2 separate regions of the Homo sapiens genome follow, and region 2 is linked to region 1. The links are contacts of gene promoters, found by promoter capture Hi-C in human tissues and cell types (Jung and others, 2019). All regions are on one chromosome and are shown on one strand. The core of a region is centred on a gene start or on the middle of the fragment in contact, and the rest is flanking DNA. Distances in the headings are between cores, read along the strand shown. Region 1 holds the start of LRRC8E (leucine rich repeat containing 8 VRAC subunit E). Region 2 overlaps ARHGEF18 (Rho/Rac guanine nucleotide exchange factor 18).

Region 1 (6,790 bases), core at 1,414-3,913:
GTAGCTGGGATTACAGGTGCGTGCCACTACGCCTGACTAATTCTTCTATCATTTTTATTTATTTTTTGTAGAGATGGGATCTCACTATGTTGCTCAGGCTGATCTCAGACTCCTGGGCTCAAGCGATCCACCCACCTTGGTCAGCCTCCTAAACTGCTGGGATTTAAGGCGTGAGCCACCCCACCTGGTCTCCTTTATTAGTTTACTTAGTGTATCTCTCCCACCCACTAGGACAGAAGCTCTCAGAGAGTAGAGAGCCTTGCTGGTCTTGTCCTGCAAGGAAGCTGCAGATGCCGACAGACAACAGGTGCTCTTAAAGCTCTACTAAATCCAAAAGGAAGTTTTGTCTTTGGACTCCCTGTGGCGGTGCCCAGAAGGTCCCTGACTTACAAGTTTCCAACCCTAGAGGTTTCCAGTCGCAGGCCCAGACCTGGTCAATGTCAGGGCTTTTTTTTTTTTCTTTTTTCTTTTGAGACGGAGTTTTGCTCTTGTTGCCCAGGCTGGAGGGCAGTGGCACGATCTCGGCTCACGGCAACATCCGCCTCCTGGGTTCAAGCGATTCTCCTGCCTCAGCCTCCCAAGTAGCTGGGATTACAGGCTTGTGCCACCACACCCAGCTAATGTTTTGTATTTTTAGTAGAGATGGGGTTTCACCATGTTGGCCAGGCTGGACTCGAACTCCTGACCTCAGGTGAATCACCCGAGTCGGCCTCCCAAAGTGCTGAGATTCTAGGCATGAGCCACCGCGCCCGGCCAAGTCAAGGCTTCTTTTACCCTGTCAGGGAGAACTCTCCGTCTCCCATCCTAAGTCCAGGTAGGAACATTTCCATGGATGGTTTGGTTTTGTTTTGTTTTGTTTTGAGATGGAATCCTGTTCTGTCGCCCAGGCTGGAGTGGGGTGGTGCAATCTCAGTTCACTGTAACCTCCACCTCCCAGGCTCAAGCGATTCTCTTGTCTCAGCCTCCCAAGTAGCACAAGCCACCACACCCAGCTAATTTTTGTATTTTTAGTAGAGACAGGGTTTCACCATGTTGGCCAGGCTGGTCTCAAACGCCTGACCTCAGGTGATCCACCCTCCTCAGCCTCCGAAAGTGCTAGATTACAGGTGTAAGCCACTGTGACCAGCCCAAGCCTACAGCACCCGGTATTCCTAGGTGGTCTCCCATCCAAGTACTAACCAGGTCCGACACTGCTTAGCTTGCGAGGTGAGACGAGGATCAGATGCTTTTAGGGTGGTATGGCCATAGATACATCCAAGGTTTTTCTTTTCTTTTCTTTTTTTATCTTTTTTTTTTTTTTTTTTTTTGAGATGGAGTCTCACTCTTCGCCCAGGCTGGAGTGCAGTGGCGCAATCTCGGCTCACTGCAAGCTCTGCCTCCTGGGTTCACGCCATTCTCCTGCCTCAGCCTCCTGAGTAGCTGGGACTACAGGCGCCCGCCACCACGCCCTGCTAATTTTTTTGTATTTTTGTAGAGACTGTGTTTCACTGTGTTAGCCACGATGGTCTCGATCTCCTGACCTCGTGATCCACCCGCCTCAGCCTCCCAAAGAGCTGGGATTACAGGCGTGAGCCACTGCACCCGGCCTCCAAGGTTTTTCAGACGGAGAACAGATCAAGGTCCACCTCCACAGATTTGCTCATCTAAGACCCAGCTCAGGCCTCCCAAGTGGGGCGGCCAGGGTGGGGGTGGGGAGGCAGAGAAGCTGGGCCCCCCAGGACTTCGGAGCTGCTTGTGCCCCACTCCCCACCTGGAGGGCAGACCACAGTGTTGGGCAGGGACAGACAGGAGGGCATCCCCACTCTACTCAACTTCCGTTGGTTCAGCCCAGTTCCCGCCCATGGCCAGAGCTTGAAGGGAGAAGCCGTCCCCTCCCCGTCCTCTCCTCCCGCAACTCCACTCCCAGCACCTGAAAACTGCAGTCACCTGTGCCTTGGCTGGGCTTTAAGGCCAGGTGACTGGGCCTTGCGGGGTTAGAAGGAGCCCTTCCGCACTTCCTCTTTTTCTTTTTTTTCTTTTGGAGACAGGGTCCTTCTTGGTGGCCCAGGCTGGAGTGCAGTGGCATGATCGTAGCTCGCTGCAGCCTCTCAACTTCCCAGATTCAGGTGATCCTTCCACCTCGGCCTCCAGAGTAGCTGGGACTACAGGCACACACCACCACACCTGGCTAATTTTTAAAATTTTGTTTTTGTAGGTTTTAAAATTTTTTGTAGAGATGTGGTCCCACTATATTGCTCAGGCTGGTTTCAAACTCCTAGGCCCAAGGTATCCTCCTGCCTCGGCCTCCCAAAGTGTTGGATTACAGGCGTGAGTCACAGAGCCCGGCCTCCACATTTTCTCGACAGGGTCCGTAAGACCTGGTTCCCAGAAAGGTGGCCGTAGAATGGCTTTGGGAGTTCAGCGTCCCCAGCTCCCTCAGTTTCCCCAGCTGCCAGGGTCCAGCCAGACTGCAAAGTTGCAAAGTTCTAAGACCCCTGCATCTCCCGCCAGCCCCGAGCCCACCAGGGCAAAGCAGCCTAAGACGGCTGTCTTCCCCCAACCCTGCTGATCGCGCGGCGCCTGGAGTAGGGTCGACCTGGGCGCGCCTGCGGCGAGGCGGGGCCGAGTCGTCCGGGGGCGGGGCGGGGCGGCTCCGGGTCTCCTGTCCCCGCCTGCCCTGACTCACCCTCGCGGCCCGCCCGGGAACTCTGCGGGAGTCGCGGCAGCTCCGCTCCCAGAGACCCAGGAGTTGGGCCCAGCGTCCCTCCCGGAACGGTGAGTAGGTGGCTCTTTGCCTCTGGACACCCCACGAGGTGGCAGGGTGGGGGTCGGGCTGGGAGTCCCCGGGTCTGGACAAGGGGCAGAGCCGCTCCAGGTGCGCCGGCCCTGTGGCCGGGGCAGGCCGTCCCGACACACCAGGAGCTGGGGTGGGGGTGCCGGCCGGTGCAAAGGGAAACCTGGCCCACGAGGTGCCCGTCCTGGGAGCCAGGCAGACGCGGCCAAGTCTCAGAGTGAAGATAAACAGGCTGAAGATAAACTTGACTTTGGGGGTCTCAACCACTTTCCCCTCCCCTTGGCATCTGGGAAGACATTGACAACTCATCCCCGGGAGACTCTCAGAGCTCCAGAACCTACCACTTGGGGTGGGTTCAACCAAGCCTGACCTCTGGTGCTCTTGAACTTACACATGTCCCAGATCTTCAAGTCTGCTGGCAGAGGCGGCTTGGAAAACCACTCGGCTGGGAATCCGCAGGCCTGGGGCCTGACCCAGGACGGGCTACAAAGATGCCACCCTCCCCCACCCTAGACCCTCAGTTTCTCCCTTGCATAAATGGTTGAGGCTCAGCCGGACACCGTGCCTTACGTCTATAATCCCAGCACTTTGGGAGGCCGAGGTGGGCAGGTCACCTGAGGTCAGGTGTTTGAGACCAGCCTGGCTAACACGGTGAAACCCCATCTCTACTAAAAATACAAAAATTAGTGGCGTGTCCCTGTAGTCCCAGCTACTGGGGAGGCTGAGGCTTGAGTACTGCTCGGACCCAAGAGGTGGAGGTTGCAGTGAGTTGAGATTGGGCCACTGCACTCCAGCCTGGGCAACAGAGCGACACTCCATCTCAAAAAAAAAAAAAGATTGAGGCCAGGCACAGTGGCTCACACCTGTAATCCCAGCACTTTGGGAGGCTGAGGTGGGAGGATTGCTTGGACTCAGAAGTTCAAGACCAGCCTGGGCAACATAGCGAGACTCCATCTCTACAAAAAATCTAAAAGTTGGCTGGGCATGGTAGCACGCACCTGTGGTCCCAGCTACTGGGGAGGCTGAGGCAGGAGGATCACTTGAGCCCAGGAGTTCGAGACTACTATGAGCTATGATCGTGCCACTGAACTCCAGCCTGGGTGACAGAGCAAGACTCTATCTCTCTCTCTCTCTCTTTTTTTTTTTTTCAAGATAGAGTCTTGCTCTGTTGCCAGGCCGGAGCGCAGTGGCACGATCTTGGCTCACGGCAACCTCCACCTCCCAGGTTCAAGCGATTCTCCTGCCTCAGCCTCCTGAGTAGCTGGGACTACAAGCATGTGGCACCATACCCAGCTAATCTTTGTATTTTTAGAGATGGGGTTTCATCATGTTGGCCAGGATGGTCTTGATCTCTTGACCTCGTGATCCACCTGCCTCAACCTCTCAAAGTGCTGGGATTACAGGCGTGATCCACTGTGTCCGTCAGGACTCTATGTCTAAAAAAAAAAAAAGGTTGGGCCTTGTTTTCTACAAAACCCCTCTTAGGGCTGAAAACTGCTGGATGTTTCTTGCTTCTTCCCTGCCTCTTAGCATGGGCTGTGGGTGTGGAGGGTCTCACTCTCCCACCCTTCCCCCAGCAGGAACTCATCACCACATTTTTTGGAGGCAAGTGGCTTGAGGAGGACCTGGGAGGGAGGAGGGGTGAGGCATGGGTGGATGGAGCCAGGGCTGGTGGGAGCCACATGGTCTCAGGCTGGAAAGCCTTCCAGCCTGGCCTGCCACAATGCAACACCGCTCTTAGGTGCTTTTGGCAAAGATGCTGTGGTTTTTTTGTTGTTGTTTGTTTTTTGAGATAGAGTCTTGCTCTGTTGCCCAGGCTGGATTGCAGTGGCGCAATCACGGCTCACTGCAACTTCCACCTCCTGGGTTCAAGAGATTCTCCTGCTTCAGCCGGGCACGGTGGCGCACGCCTGTAATCCCAGCTCTTTGGGAGGCCGAGGCAGGCAGATCATGAGATCAGGAGATTGAGACCATCCTGGCTAATACAGTGAAACCCCGTCTCTACTAAAATTACAAAAAATTAGCCGGGCGAGGTGGCGGGCGCCTGTAGTCCCAGCTACTCGGGAGGCTGAAGCAGGAGAATGGTGTGAACCCGGGAGGCGGAGCTTGCAGTGAGCCGAGATCACACCACTGCACTCCAGCCTGGGCGACAGAGTGAGACTCTGTCTCAAAAAAAAAAGAGATTCTCCTGCTTCAGCTTCCCCATTAGCTGGGATTATAGGTGCCCACCACCACTCCAGCTAATTTTGTATTTTTAGTAGACATGGGGTTTTACCATGTTGGGCTAGCCTGGTCTCAAACTCCTGACCTCAAATGATCTGCCTACCTTGGCCTCCCAAAGTGTTGGGATTACAGGCGTGAGCCACCGTGCCTGGCAAGATGCTGCATTTTAATTAGAGGCTGTCTCCCAAGAGGGAACAGAGCAGTTGCAATCCTACAGGCAGGACCTGGAGGTTGGATGGGTCAGGCTTCGAATGCCGCTTGGAACTGTAGAAGCTTGAGCAAGTTATTTCTCTCCCCTGAGTCTGGAAAGCAAAGTCTCCGACATCCACGCTGCCTGGGTTGGGATAAAATGAGGCATTCAGTGTCTGGTGGAGAAAGCTGAGCGTATACGTCCCATCGTTTTATTTTCCCTGGCTCTGCCCCAATTCTTCGAGCCCCTGTTCCTGGACCTTCCCACCAGCCCTGCTCAGACAAAGTGGGGGCCTATTTTATGTCTGTGGAAATTTAATGGCAGGTTTGTGAGGATCAAGTTTGAGTCATGGAGACAGATAATGATAGCCCCTGTGGCTGCCCCCCGGTCCCCTGAGTGTTGCTGCCTTCTTGTCTGCGATTGTGCACCTGGGATGGCTATTGGTGGAGCTTACACCAGGGTGGCAAGGACAGGAAGTTGGTCCCTGCTCGGGTGTGTGTGTGTGTGTGTGTGTTTGTGTGTGTGTGTGTGTGTTGTGTGATTTCTTCTGCAGCCTCCAGAGTCAGGAGTTTTTGTTTTGTTTTGTTTTTTTGAGACGGAGTCTCGCTCTGTCGCCCAGGCTGGAGTGCAGTGGCGAGATCTTGGCTCACTGCAGCTTCTGTCTCCCGAGTTTAAGCAATTCTCCTGCCTCACTCTCCTGAGTAGCTGGGATTACAGGCATCCACCACCATGCCTGGCTAATTGTTTTTGTATTTTTAGTAGAGACGAGGTTTCACCATGTTGGCCAGGCTGGTCTGGAACTCCTGACCTCAAATTATCCGCCTACCTTGGCCTCCCAAAGTGCTGGGATTACAGGCGAGAGCCACCGCGCCCGGCCCCAGTCAGTAGTGTTTTGCTTGCTGTGTTTGAGATAGGGTCTTGCCCAGGCTGGTTCATGGCTCACTGCAGCCTCTAACTCCTGGGTTCAAGCAATCCTCCCACCTCAGTCTTCCAAGTAGCTGGGACTACAGGCATGCACCACCACACCTGGCAAGATTTTAGATTTTTTTTTTTTTTTTGAGACGGAGTCTCGCTCTGTCGCCCAGGCTGGAGTACAGTTGTGCAATCTTGGCTCACTGCAGGCTCTGCCTCCCAGGTTCACGCCATTCTCCTGCCTCAGCCTCCCAAGTAGCTGGGACTACAGGCGTCTGCCACTATGCCCGGCTAATTTTTTGTATTTTTAGTAGAGACGGGGTTTCGCCGCATTAGCCAGGATGGTCTCAATCTCCTGACCTCGTGATCCACCCACCTCGGCCTCCCAAAGTGCTGGGATTACAGGCGTGAGCCACCGCACCCGGCCCAAATTTTTAGATTTTTTTGTAGAAATGGGGTCTGACTATGTTGTCCTGGCTGCTCAAACTCCTGGGCTCAAGCAATCCTCCTGCCTCAGCCTCCCAAAGTGCTGGAATTACAGGCCTGAGCCACTGCACCCAGCCTGGGGTCAGCATTCTTAGGTAAAGCAACTGAGCAGTGTCCCTGCAGGATCCTTGGAGGACTCAATGGATGGCCGGAACCAAAACAGGACGTGAGGGTCCCTGGTGCTGGGTCCCTCCGAAGCTCAGTGT
Region 2 (6,790 bases), core at 3,064-5,563, 530 kb before region 1:
CCATCCACCCATTCTTCCATCCATTCTTCCATCCATCCATCCATCCATCCACTCTTCCATCCATCCAACCATCCATCCATTCAACATCCATTCATCCATCTACCTATCCATCCACCCATCCACTCATACATCCAATTATCTACTCATTCATCCATTCACCTATCCATCCATCTACCTGTCCAACCATTCATCCATCCACCTATCCATCCATCTACCTATCCAACCATTCACCCATCTGTCTATCCACTCATTCATCCATCCATCCATCCTTCTACACATCCACCCATCCATTCAACCATCCACTCACCCATCCATCCATCCATCCATCCAACCATCTATCCATTTATCTACCCATTTATCCAAATATATGGGCACTGACTCTGTGCCCAACCCAACACAGCAGAGGATAGCCTGGTGATTGGGATCTCTTCTTTGAATTCAGAAACATCTGAATTTGACTCCCAGCTCTACCTCATACCAGATTGGTATGGCCTTGGTAAAGTCAGTGCACCTCTCTAAACCTCAGTTTCCCTTTCTATAAAATGAGGACTCAGAGTTGCTGTGAGTATAGAAGAGTGAAAAGTACATGATGGGCTTAGCACTAAGCCAGACATATAGAAAGTGATTGATACAAGATTTTACCTTTTGGAGCTTGGGGATGTAAAAGTGGATCAGATATAGTCACTGCCCTCACAGACCTCATGCTCTAGAGCATGGATCAGCAAACCTTTTCTATAAAGAGCTAGGCAGAGCAATCCAAAGTCCTATGGCTAAAATTGTCTGCAGAGGATCTGAGACAGAGCCCTCAGTTGCCAGGCAGGAAGAGTGGTAGGAACAGCACAGAGATACCAGGAGAATGGTGAGTTGGGTGTGCATGTGTGTGACAGGGAGGTAAGAGGACAGGCTGAGGAGGGCTCTGAATGTCATTCTAAGGGGACTGGAGTCTATAGGGGTGGGGATCAGTAGAAGGGGAGTGACCATCAGAGGGTTATATCAAAAGGACACACCAACTCCAGGACAGAAGATGGACTACAGGGGAGAGACTGGTAGCTGAGGATCAGTGACAAATGTGATTGGCAATCGTTTGGGGCAATTGTGGTTGGTAATTGACAGAGCTCAGTCTATGACACTGGGATTAGGGCTTAGCTCATAATATTGGAATCAGGACACAGCCTATGACATCAGGATTGGAGCTCAGTCTATGATGCCAGATCAAGATTCAGTCTATGACACCAGGATTGGGGCTCAGTCTATGATACCAGGATAAGAGCTAAGACTATGACACCAGGATTAGGGCTTAGCCTATGACACTAGGATCAGGGATCAATATATGACACCAGGATAAAGGCTTAGTCTATGACACTAGGAGGGGGGTTCATTCTATGATACAAGAATGAATGCTCAACCAATGACAGCCAGATGAAGTTCAGTCTGTGATATCAGGATCAAGGCTCAGTATATGACACCAGGATCATGGCTCAGTCTGTGACACAAAGATTGGAGTTCAATCTGTAAAACTAGGATCAGAGTTGAGTCAGTCATTGGGAACTAGGATCACAGTTGAGTTCATCATCAGGTCAAGCTCAACCTGTTCCTCGGTCAGAAGCTTCCCTATAAAAACAAAACTCAGCCAGGCACAGTGGCTCATGCCTGTAATCCCAGCACTTTGGGAGGCCGAGGTGGGAGGATCATATGAGACCAGGAGTTCGAGACTAGCCTAGCCAACATGGTGAAACCCCATTTCAACTAAAAATGCAAAAATTAGCTGGACATGGTGGTACACATCGGTGGTCCCAGCTACTCAGAAGTCTGAGACAGGAGAATCGCTTGTACCCAGGAGGTGGAGACTGCAGTGAGCCAAGATGGAACCACTCCAGCCTGGGTGACAGAGCAAGACTCTCTTGAAACAAAACAACAACAACAACAACAACAACAAAACATGCACAATCACACAACCCTGGCATTTCTTTTCTTTTCTTTTTTCATTCTTTTCCTTTTTTTTTTTCTTTGAGACAGAGTCTCACTCTGTCACCCAGGCTGGAGTGCAATGGCACAATCTCAGTTCACTGCATCCTGCCCTTCCCTGGCTGAAGAGATTCCCATGTGTCAGCCTCCCTAGTAGCTGGAATTATAAGCACATGCCACCATGCCCAGCTAATGTTTGTATTTTCAGTAGAGACTAGGTTTCGCCATGTTGGTCAGGCTGGTCTCAAACTCCTCACCTCAAGTGATCCGCCTTCCTCGGCCTCCCAAAGTGCTGGGATTACATGTGTGAGCCACTGGGCCCGGCCAACCCTGGCCTTTCACCTTTGATCTTTGGATCCCAGACCTTCAGGGTTCACAGATACAGGGCATGAGGTCCTGCAGGCTACAGGAGGCCTCAGGCCTCCACAAGGACCCTGTCCAGTGAAGCAAGCCAACCCTGCAGGCTCTCCTCCAGCCCTAAGGGGACTTGGCTGAGGAATGGGACTGCCTTTCCCCTCCCAAGCTCCCACCAACCTCCAGGACCCTCCCCCACATCTGGCTTTCCTCCTCCTTCACAGCCTGCTTGTTTCGTTTCTGTGAGTCATAGATGCTGCTTCGGCTTCTGGGTGGGGAAGAGAACAGATGCAAAGCTTAACAACAGCAGCTGAACAGAGTCCCTCCAACCAGCCCGGGAGGGCAACCTGGAAAGCAGTGATGGTGGAAACCCTGGCATTGCTCGTTACTGTCCAGCCACTCATCTGTGAATACAGGTGGCATCAGGGGGCAAATTTACCTTGAAGCAATGGAAACTGAAGCTTCAGGCCCCATGTGTACCTGCCCCATCCAAAGCTCTGCAAGAGGCTCCAACAAAAAACTTTTTAGGAACAGCTTTATTGAGCTACCATATACTTCACCCATTTAAAGCATACAATTCAGTGGTTTTAGGCCAGGTGCAATGGCTCATGCCTGTAATCCCAGCACTTTGGGAGGCCAAGGCGGGGGGATTGCCTGAGCTCAGGAGTTCCGGACCAGCCTGGCCAACGTAGCAAGACCCCCGTCTCTACTAAAAATAAAAAAAATTAGCCAGGTGTGGTGGTGCATACGTGTAATCCCAGCTACTCAACAGGCTGAGGCAGGAGAATCACTCAAATCCCGGAGGTGGAGGTTGCAGTGAGCCAAGATGGCGCCACTGCACTCCAGCCTGGGCAACAGAGTGAGGCTCTATCTCAAAAAAGAGACTGCATAACAGCGGTTCCTCAAAAAGCTAAGCATAGATTAGCATGTACTCCAGCAATTCCCTTCCTAGGTAACGACCCAAGACAATGGAAAACACACATCCGTGCAATTGCGTACATCTGTATGCAATTGTTCATGGCAGCGTGATTTGAAATAACCAAATGGTGAAAACGACCCAAATGTCCATCAACAGATCAATGGATACACGAAATGTGGTATCTCCATGCAATTGAATATTATTCAGCCCTAAAACAAATAAAGCACTGGCCGGGCACCGTGGCTCACACCTGTAATCCCTACACTTTGGGAGGCTGAGGCATGCAGATCACCTGAGGTCAGGAGTTCTAGACTAGCCTGGCCAACATGGTGAAACCCCAACTCTATTAATCACACAAAATTAGCCAGGTGCAGTGGTGTGCACCTGTAATCCCAGCTACTCAGGAGGCTGAGGCAGGAGAATGGCTTGAACTCGGGAGGCGGAGGTTGTGGTGAGCTGAGATCACGCCACTGCACTCCAGCTTGGGGGCAACAGAGCAAGACTCTGTGGAAGAAGAAGAAGAAGAAGAAGAAGGAGAAGGAGAAGGAGAAGGAGAAGGAGAAGGAGAAGGAGAAGGAGAAGGAGAAGGAGAAGGAGAAGGAGAAGGAGAAGGAGAAGGAGAAGGAGAAGGAGAAGGAGAAGGAGAAGGAGAAGGAGAAGGAGAAGGAGAAGGAGGAGAAGAAGGAGAAGAAGGAGAAGAAGGAGAAGAAGGAGAAGAAGAAGGAGAAAAGAAGAGGAAGAAGAGGAAGAAGAAGACAAGAAGAGGAAGAGGAAGAAGAAAGGAAGAAGGAAGGAGAAGAAGAGGAGGAGGAAGAAGGAGAAGGAGGAAGAAGAAGGAAGAAGGTGGAGGAGGAGGAGGAAGAGGAGGAGGAGGAAAAACAATGTGGGCATTGGGTACTTGCATTTGGTCTACGGGACCATTAGCATCATTGATCAACTGAGGGCTTTTTCCTAGAGCAGGCATAACAAATTGATTTCATACATAAGCCAACTTGGATCACCTGGTGATGGCTGTTGGAACTGGTGTGTTGGGAAGAATCCTGAGGGGGCAAATGGCTAAGCAGGAAATTGACTCATGATTGACTAGCAATGTCTGCCATAGGCTTGGGATGGGGAAGAGGTGACACGTATGTTGGCTTCAAGATCATTGAGACCATCTTCCCCCTCCCCTCACCAACTCATTTTATAGTTGAGAAAACTGAGGTCCAGGGTGACCAGCAACAGATGCAGAATCCAGGTCCTGGCTTCCTCAGCACTCCCAGCTTATCCCTGACACCTTGTCCCTCCTTTCTCCACAGGCTCTGAGCCCAAGTCATGTGTCCAGCCTTTTGACTCTGGAGCTGTGGCTTCAGCCACCAAGAGCAGCAGTGGATCCTGGAAACCTGAGAACCCAGACTTCTTCTCTGCCATGGGGGATGATCAGGCAGGTGTCTGACTGCTGAAACGGGCAGGAGCTGATGACGACAGTGGCAGCAAGTACACTTTGTTTAGCACCTGCATTTTACCAGGCACTTTGTGTACATTATCTCAGGGAATCCTCATCGAAACTTGCAAAGTCATTTATTATCCTGTTTTACCTATGAGGAAACCAGAATCTGTTCTGAAATAAGAAGAGGGAGGAAAGGAGCAATGGAGGGATGAATGGATGGATGGATAGATGGATGGGTGGGTGGGTGTCTGGATAGATGGATGGATAGATGGAAGGAAAGAGGAAATCAAGGAAAGATGAGTAGAAGGATGGATGGATGGATGGATACGTGGATGAATAGAAGGGTGGCTGGGTGGATGAATGGATGACGGATGACTAGAAGGAAGGGAGGAAAGATGGGTAGAAGTGTGGGTGAATGGATAAATGGATGATGGGTGAATAAAAAGAAGAAAGCTAGATGGATAGATGGATGGACTGATGGAAGGAAGGAGGATGGATGAAGGAAGGAAGGAAAGAAGGAAGTATGGATGGATAGGTAGAAGGATGGGTGGATTAAAGGAAGGAAGGAGAGATGGTTGATGAATGAAAGAGTAGAAAGGTGGGTGAATGGAAGGAAGGAAGAAAGATGAGAAATGTGGGTGGATGGATACATGAATGATTGATGAATAAAATGAAAGATGGAAGGAAGGAAGATGGATGGATGAAAGGAAAGAGGATGGATAAATGAAAGAATGAAGGAAGGATGGATGGATAATGGATGGGTGAGTGGATGGATGAGAAGAAATGTGAGTGGAAGGAAGGAAGGAAGAAAGATGGATGGGTGAAAGGAAGGAAGATGGCTAGATTGATGAAAGGAAGGAGGATGGATAAATGAAAGAATGAAGGAAGGATGGATGGATAATGGGTGGGTGAATGGATGGATGAGAAGAAGGGTGAGTGAAAAGGAAGGAAAAAAGGAAGAAAGGAAGGAAGGGGGATGGATGGATGGGTTGATGGAAGGAAGGAGGATGGATAAATAAAAGAATGAAGGAAGGATAGATAAATAATGGGTGGGTGAATGGATGGATGAGTAGAAGGGTGAGAGGAAGGAAGGAAGGAAGATGGGTGGATGAAAGGAAGGAGGATGGATAAATGAATGAATGAAGGAAAGATGGATGGGTAATGGATGGATGAATGGATGGATGAGAAGAAGAGTGAGTGGAAGGAAGGAAGATGGATAAATAAAAGAATAAAGGAAGGATGGATGGATAACGGATGGGTGAATGGATAGATGAGAAGACGGGTGAGTGGAAGGAAGGAAAGAAGGAAGGAAGTAAGGAAGATGGATGGATGGGTTGATGGAAGGAAGGAGGATGGATAAATGAAAGGATGAAGGAAGGATGGACGGATAATGGAGGGGTAATGGATAGATGAGAAGAAGGATGAGAGGAAGAAAGGAAGGAAGGAGGGAAGGAAAGGAAGGAAGGAAGGAAGGAAGGAAGGAAGGAAGGAAGGCAGGCTGACTAAAACCAAATACAGCCTAGAAAGGTAGACTGACTTGCCTAAGTTCCCGTCATGGCAGAGTTGGGATTCAAGCCCATTCTGACTCTGCAGCCTGCGTCCATACCCTCTGCTCTCATCACACTTTCTCTAAGCGCTTATGTCAGGGGCCTGTGGGGTAGGCCAGCCCCCAGGCTCCAGTCTCAAAAGAAAGACCCTGAAAGCTTGTGGTCCCTGGGTGGAGTTGGGGCACAGTTAACATCAAGTCCTGATGGTGTGTGGCTGGGACTGAGGTCGTGGCAAAGGTCCTGGTGACAGCCTCCAGGCTGCTTCAGGGAAGGTCTCCTGGGGTGGAAGATGTGGCATCTAGGAGGTGCATCCTTAAGAGGGTAGGGGCCAGGGAGAGGTCTCGTAAACATAGTTCAGCTCCAGCTCCACCAGGGACCAAGACAGTCAGGTGGTGTGTGTTGGGTCTCCAGGAAGCAGACTCAGACGGAGTTGGGCTGAAATGGGCAAGCTTTTATATCCCCTTGTCAATCACCCATTGCTGATGGGCTGCCCAGGAAGGGGGCTGAGAACTGACAGTTCCTTCTCCCACAGCCTCGGAGGATCTGAGTGGTTTTCCACAACATCCGCTACACTAA

Evidence for each region. Contacts are between HindIII fragments. The study calls those that stand out against the background at their distance.
Region 2: a contact is called between a fragment that was not itself captured here and the fragment with the promoter of LRRC8E in region 1, in 2 of the 25 tissues and cell types used here (dorsolateral prefrontal cortex and lymphoblastoid cells).

What each region holds. Positions count from the first base shown.
Region 1 is chr19:7,885,847-7,892,636 of GRCh38, forward strand. It overlaps LRRC8E (leucine rich repeat containing 8 VRAC subunit E), which reads left to right and starts at 2,664. Exons shown (of 3, transcript NM_025061.6): 1 at 2,664-2,754. It also overlaps the pseudogene RNA5SP463. RefSeq lists enhancers at 2,421-3,119, 4,009-4,509 and a silencer at 2,543-2,672. The HindIII fragment of the contact is 6,573 bases long and covers 1,688-6,790 here.
Region 2 is chr19:7,358,245-7,365,034 of GRCh38, forward strand. It overlaps ARHGEF18 (Rho/Rac guanine nucleotide exchange factor 18), which reads left to right. Exons shown (of 29, transcript NM_001367823.1): 2 at 4,537-4,661. The coding sequence starts at 4,647. Among named protein-coding and RNA genes, the nearest start is that of ARHGEF18, 13 kb to the left of the region's middle. The HindIII fragment of the contact is 4,406 bases long and covers 2,111-6,516 here.